2 separate regions of the Homo sapiens genome follow, and region 1 is linked to region 2. The links are contacts of gene promoters, found by promoter capture Hi-C in human tissues and cell types (Jung and others, 2019). All regions are on one chromosome and are shown on one strand. Each heading gives the region's core, a stretch centred on a gene start or on the middle of the fragment in contact. The rest is flanking DNA. Distances are from core to core; before and after follow the strand shown.

Region 1 (2,700 bases), core at 102-2,601, 260 kb after region 2:
GCCGAGGTGGGCAGATCACGAGGTCAGGAGATCGAGACCATCCTGGCTAACATGGTGAAACCCCATCTCTACTAAAAATACAAAAAAAAAAAAAATTAGCCGGGCGTGGTGGCGGGCGCCTGTAGTCCCAGCTACTTGGGAGGCTGCGGCAGGAGAATGGCGTGAACCCAGGAGGTGGAGCTTGCAGTGAGCCAAGATCGTGCTACTGCACTCCAGCCTGGGTGACAGAGCAAGACTCCGTCTCAAAAAAAAAAAAAAAAGTGGCAGAGCCCAGACTCGAGCCCTCTCCTTCCTCCTCCTTTCCTTCCCTCACATCTTTGTCCTTTTCTTTCTTTTTTTTTTTTTTTGAAACAGATTCTTCGTTCTGTTGCCTAGGCTTGAGTGCAGTGGCGTGATCTCGGCTCACTGCAACCTCCGCCTCCCCCTGGGTTCAAGTGATTTTCCTGCCTCAGCCTTCTGAGTAGCTGGGACTACAGGCGCCCGCCACCACACCTGGCTAATACTTGTATTTTTAGTAGAGACGAGGTTTCATCATGTTGGCCAGGCTGGTCTTGAACTCTTAACCTCAAGTGATCCACCCTCCTCGGCCTCTCAAACATTACAGACATGAGCCACTGCGCCTGGCCTCTTCTCTTCTTCTTCTTCCTTTCCTTTCTTCTCCTCCTCCTCTTCCTCTTCTTCCTCCTTCTCTCCCTTCCCCTCAGTCCCTTCCCTTTGCCTGTCCTTGGCCCTTCCTTTCCATACATTTAGCGAGCGGCAGCCATGTGCCAGGTTCCAGGACAGGCACGGGGCATCATCAGTGGACAAGGTAGTCAGGCTCCTGTACTCCGGATGTGTGTGAAGCGCCTGAGGGTCAGCTCAGGCAGTAGTGATTTTGTTCTATGGCCTCTTTATTTTTTTTGAGACGGAGTCTCGCTTTGTCCCCCAGGTTGGAGCGCAGTAGTGCGATCTTGGCTCACTGCAACCTCCACCTCCCGGGTTCAAGTGATTCTCCTGCCTCAGCCCCCGGAGTAGCTGGGAATACAGGTGCAGTCCACCATACCCAGCTAATTTTTGTATTTTTAGTAGAGATGAGGTTTCACCATTTTGGTCATATAGCCTCATTCTTAATGCACTTTGCCCCCTGGCTTCCCAGTCAGTCCCTCCCCTTGTTCTCCTTGCCCCTCTCTCTTGGGCTGCCTCTCACAAGGCTATCTCTTATCTTGCCTTTTTTGTTTTGTTTTGTTTTGAGACAGGGCCTCACTCTATCACCCAGGCTGGAGTGCAGTGGTATGATCATAGCTCACCACAGCCTTGAACTCCTGGCCTCGAGCAATCCTCCTGCCTCAGCCTCCCTTGCCTTTTCTTTACTTGCGGGGCTTCCCACGGTTCCATCCTGGGCTGCTTCTGTGCTGTCTTGGCCTGTCCTTAACGGTGAAAGCAGAGGCTTCTGACTCTGAGCTCCGACTGTTTCCTGCCAATGCCCATGTGTCTGTCTTTCGCTGGATAGAGCGCCCCCTGAGGGGAGGGCTGGGCAGGATCTATCTTTGTGTCTCCAGGGCCCTGCACAGGTCCTTCAGGAAAGTTGGGGCCCTGGGGCCCAGTGAGCAAGGAGACCGAGAAGACCCTGTTTGAAGCAGGAGAGGACAGTGTTCAGAACTCCCATGCAAAGCGCCTCATGTCCTAAGTGGACAGATCCTTGAACCTGGGGAGGGAGGTTCATATTTACATTGACAGAGGTGGAAGCTCAGAAGGGTGAAGTCACTTGCCCTAAGTTGCACAGCTAGGAAGTGACAGAGCCAGGACTTGAGCTCACATCTGTTGGACCCACAGGCTTAATCCTGGCATGCTGAGCCTGCGTTCCTTGCTTCTGGGGGGCTACGTGGAGTTGGGGTGGACCCCAGAGGCTACCGAGGGCAAACAGGCAGTTGAAGACCTGGCCACTAGGGTTCGTCTGTCCCTGAGGTGTCACTCATCCACCCTGTCCCCATGCCACTTTGCTCCTGGCTTTTCTCCCGGCCCCTTTCCTTGCTCAGATCCTGGAATCCTTGTAGTTAGTTAATTCTGGCAACTTGGTTTCTTCCCCCTCCCTTTTGCAGGTATTTAGAGAATTACCTGGCCAACCTCTTTGCAGGAGCCTGGGAGCCTCAGCCCGAGGGACCGCTGCCCCTGGACATCCCCCAGGCTTCCCCGCAGCAGGTGAATTGCCTCTCTTTTGTGTCTGAGGACCCTACCCTCTCCCTGAGGGGAGAGGGCCCCCTGACCCTCTCCCTGAGTCAGTACTGGGGCCTTAATCTTGGGTGCTCATGGCGACTCAAGGGCGGCCCTTTGGCTGGACGCGGTGGCTCACAGCAGCAATCCCAACACTTAGGGAGGCCGAGGCAGGCGGATCACTTGAGGCCAGGAGTTCAAGACTAGCCTGGCCAACATGGTGAAACCCTGTCTCTACTGAAAATACAAAAGTTAGCCAGGCATGGTGGCACGCGCCTGTAATCCCAGCTACTCTGGAGGCTGAGGCGGGAGAATCGTTTGAACCTGGGAGGTGGAGGCTGCAGTGAGCTGAGATCATGCCATTACACTCTATCCTGGGCAACAGAGTGAAACTGTGTCTCAAAAAAATAAATAAATAAAAAGACAGCCCTTTGATCCCCACCTCTCGCTCCAGGTTCAGCGCTGTGTGGAGATCCTGAGCCGGGCCAAGAGGCCTCTGATGGTGCTGGG
Region 2 (2,700 bases), core at 34-2,533:
TTCATTCTTGGAATTCTGTGGGTTAAAAAAGACGTTTCATTAAATATCTGTTCCTGTTTTTATATCTTCCCCGTTGGCCCCAAAGTGCTCCTTGCCTATTAGCCTAGTTGGCACCTTGTTACAGGTTGCACCCACCTTTGGCTCTTAGTTTCTTAATTGTTCACTGCTTATAGCTTTTTTGTAAGCAAATCAGATTTCTGTAATACAGCCGTAAAGTTAGAGATATATAGATCTGTATTTTTATTTACCTACAGTAAGTGTGGTGTGGAAGGAGAGGGAATTTGAACAAAGATCAGATAGGTTGTGGTTCCATGCTTGTGGAGTGGCCCTCCGTTGGTGGGGCTGGAAGTGCGTGGGTGCAGGGGCGGGGTGGGGTCCCTCTAAGCTGGCAGGGTCGGGGCAGCAACTTGTAGGGCACTCAGAGCAGCCTCTCCAGCTCCTTCTGCCCTGCCCGCAGCTCATGATGGAGCAGTCCAAGAAGTCCTCCCTCATGGTGGCCCGCAGTATTCTCAACAACAAGCTCATCAGCAAGAAGCTGGAGCGCTACCTGAAGGTGAGGCACTGGTCCGGGCCTGCCCTGTCCCCAGCTTAGTCCCCGCCTGTGCTCCCTCCCTTCAGTGTCCGCGCCCCTCCCCACAGGGCGAGAACCCTTTCACCGACAGCCCCGAGGAGGAGAAGGAGCAGGAGGAGGCTGAGGGCGGTGCCCTGGACGAGGGGGCGCAGGGCGAAGCGGCAGGGATCTCGGAGGGCGCAGAGGGCGTGCCGGCGCAGCCTCCCGTGCCCCCAGAGCCAGCCCCCGGGGCCGTGTCGCCGCCACCGCCGCCGCCCCCAGAGGAGGAGGAGGAGGGCGCCGTGCCCTTGCTGGGAGGGGCGCTGCAACGCCAGATCCGCGGCATCCCGGGCCTCGACGTGGAGGACGACGAGGAGGGCGGCGGGGGCGCCCCGTGACCCGAGCTCGGGGCGGGCGGAGCCCGCGTGGCCGAAGCTGGAAACCAAACCTAATAAAGTTTTCCCATCCCACCTCCGGGTTTCTCTGTTACTGTGCCGCGCGGGCGGGGCGGGGTGGGCAGAGGGGCGGGGTGCGCATGCGCGCGGGCCGGGCCGTCGGGCACCGCGGTGGGACCACAACTCCCATTAGGCCACGGAGCTGGATCGTAGCAGCCCGAAAGGCCAGCTGGGACGGCGAGGGCGGGCCCTCGTGAAGACCAGCCAATGGGGGCGCGCGGAAGTAGTGACGTGTGCGCCTGGTCTTCCAGTAGTCGATGGCGGAGGTGCGCTGAACGCATGCGTGCTGTGGTCGCCTAGTAAACGGGGCTGCTGGTGGGCCGCGTCGAAGACATGGACCAGGGCTACGGAGGTTTGTGTTGGCTGCTGGGTGCGGAGCGGGGAGGGAAGGCTCTGTGCGGGCGACGCAGCCGCTGCGCAGACTGCCGCCGGCCGGGCCTTCGTCCCGAGCGTGGTTGCCCCAGCTGGGCCCTCCGGAGAGGCGGCCAGGGCGCGCGCGCGCCGCTCATTGGGCTTTGGCGCCGTCGCTCCCGGGGCTCTGCGTGCGGATTGGCCGCCAGGCCCCGAGGAGGCGGGCGGGACTCGGGGTTGGGGCAGACGCCGCGGTGGGCTTCGTGGGGGCGTCTTAGACAGTGTGGGCCGTTTTTGCCCCTCACCTTCGGCGGAGTCCTTCCGGCCCCCAGCGACCCCGGGGTTTGCACTCCCGGCTTCCTCTTCCGAAGACGCCACAAAATGGCGGCGCTAGGGGGGCGGAGCTACAGCGTGGGGTTGTGAGGTCGGACCCGGGGAGCTGGGTCTGGGGCCGCGGGCGGACCGCGGGGGCCGCCTCTCTCCCGACCTGCCCTAGGCCCGCGGGGCCGTGTAGGGTCTCCGCTGGGCTCACGTGGCCCAGGGCGCCTGTCCCGGAAGCCGTCGGGCTGCGCGGGGTCGGGCCTTTAGTCCCCGGTGCAGCGCGGTGGGGCCGAGTGCTGCCGGCGCGAGAGTCAGCCTCGCCGGGCTCCAGCTCTGTACCCGGCGCGTGCTGGCTTGGGACAGGATGGTGAGGGGCAGATGCTGAGTGTTCGTATAAAGCTGGAAACCTGATGTGCCCTGGGGCTGGTGACATTGGCAGTTCTCCTTTAGGCAGTCTGTTGTGGTGGCCTGGAGGGGCCGAGGGGCTGTGCAGGAGGGAACGTGTCCTTTCCCCACTAGGATTTAGCGCTTGGCCTGCAGTAGGGCCGATCTTCTCGAGCTGCCTGCTCCCTGCTTCTGGAATCAGAGCCTTTTGGGAGCAAAGTTTGCCCACAGGGGATAGTTGGGACATGCTGGGTGGAGCTCGACTGGTTGTAGAGAAGCTAGTGGTCTGATCCTGGCTGCAGGAGCTCGAGAAGTTGTCGATCTTGAGAAGTGGCAGGGCAAAAGTATCCCAGCACCAGAAATTGCAGAGAGAGGTTTCGGTCCTGAGGCGGCAGCGTGCGCGGTGTGCTTTGGTGTCTTCCGGGTCCTAGCGAAGGCTCAGCCTGGCTCTCCTGGTCTTCCGCAGCCTGGGTAGATTTCACCATTCTTTCCCTTCTTTCCCATCAGATCTTTTCTGCAGGTATTGTATTCCTTCTTTTCATTCTTAGTTTGGAGAGGTTTTTTTTACCCCCTCTTCCTACCTGCCGAAAACCTTTCAGACACACTGGAGATAGTTAAGCTTCCCTGATTTCTTGTGTT

What was found. The method cuts DNA at HindIII sites, captures the fragments that hold promoters and counts their contacts. A contact is called where the count stands out against the background at its distance.
Region 1: a contact is called between a fragment that was not itself captured here and the fragment with the promoter of AKAP8 in region 2, in 2 of the 25 tissues and cell types used here (adrenal gland and spleen).

What each region holds. Positions count from the first base shown.
Region 1 is chr19:15,119,460-15,122,159 of GRCh38, reverse strand. HACL2 (2-hydroxyacyl-CoA lyase 2) reads left to right here. Exons shown (of 16, transcript NM_006844.5): 7 at 2,079-2,178; 8 at 2,645-2,700. Among named protein-coding and RNA genes, the nearest start is that of ILVBL-AS1, 3.4 kb to the left of the region's middle. The HindIII fragment of the contact is 6,371 bases long and covers 1-2,700 here.
Region 2 is chr19:15,378,370-15,381,069 of GRCh38, reverse strand. AKAP8 (A-kinase anchoring protein 8) reads left to right here and starts at 1,283. Exons shown (of 14, transcript NM_005858.4): 1 at 1,283-1,357. The coding sequence starts at 1,339. It overlaps AKAP8L (A-kinase anchoring protein 8 like), which reads left to right. Exons shown (of 14, transcript NM_014371.4): 13 at 458-553; 14 at 640-1,020. The coding sequence ends at 948. RefSeq lists silencers at 658-1,147, 1,488-2,037 and enhancers at 312-1,226, 998-1,292, 1,227-2,142. The HindIII fragment of the contact is 19,214 bases long and covers 1-2,700 here.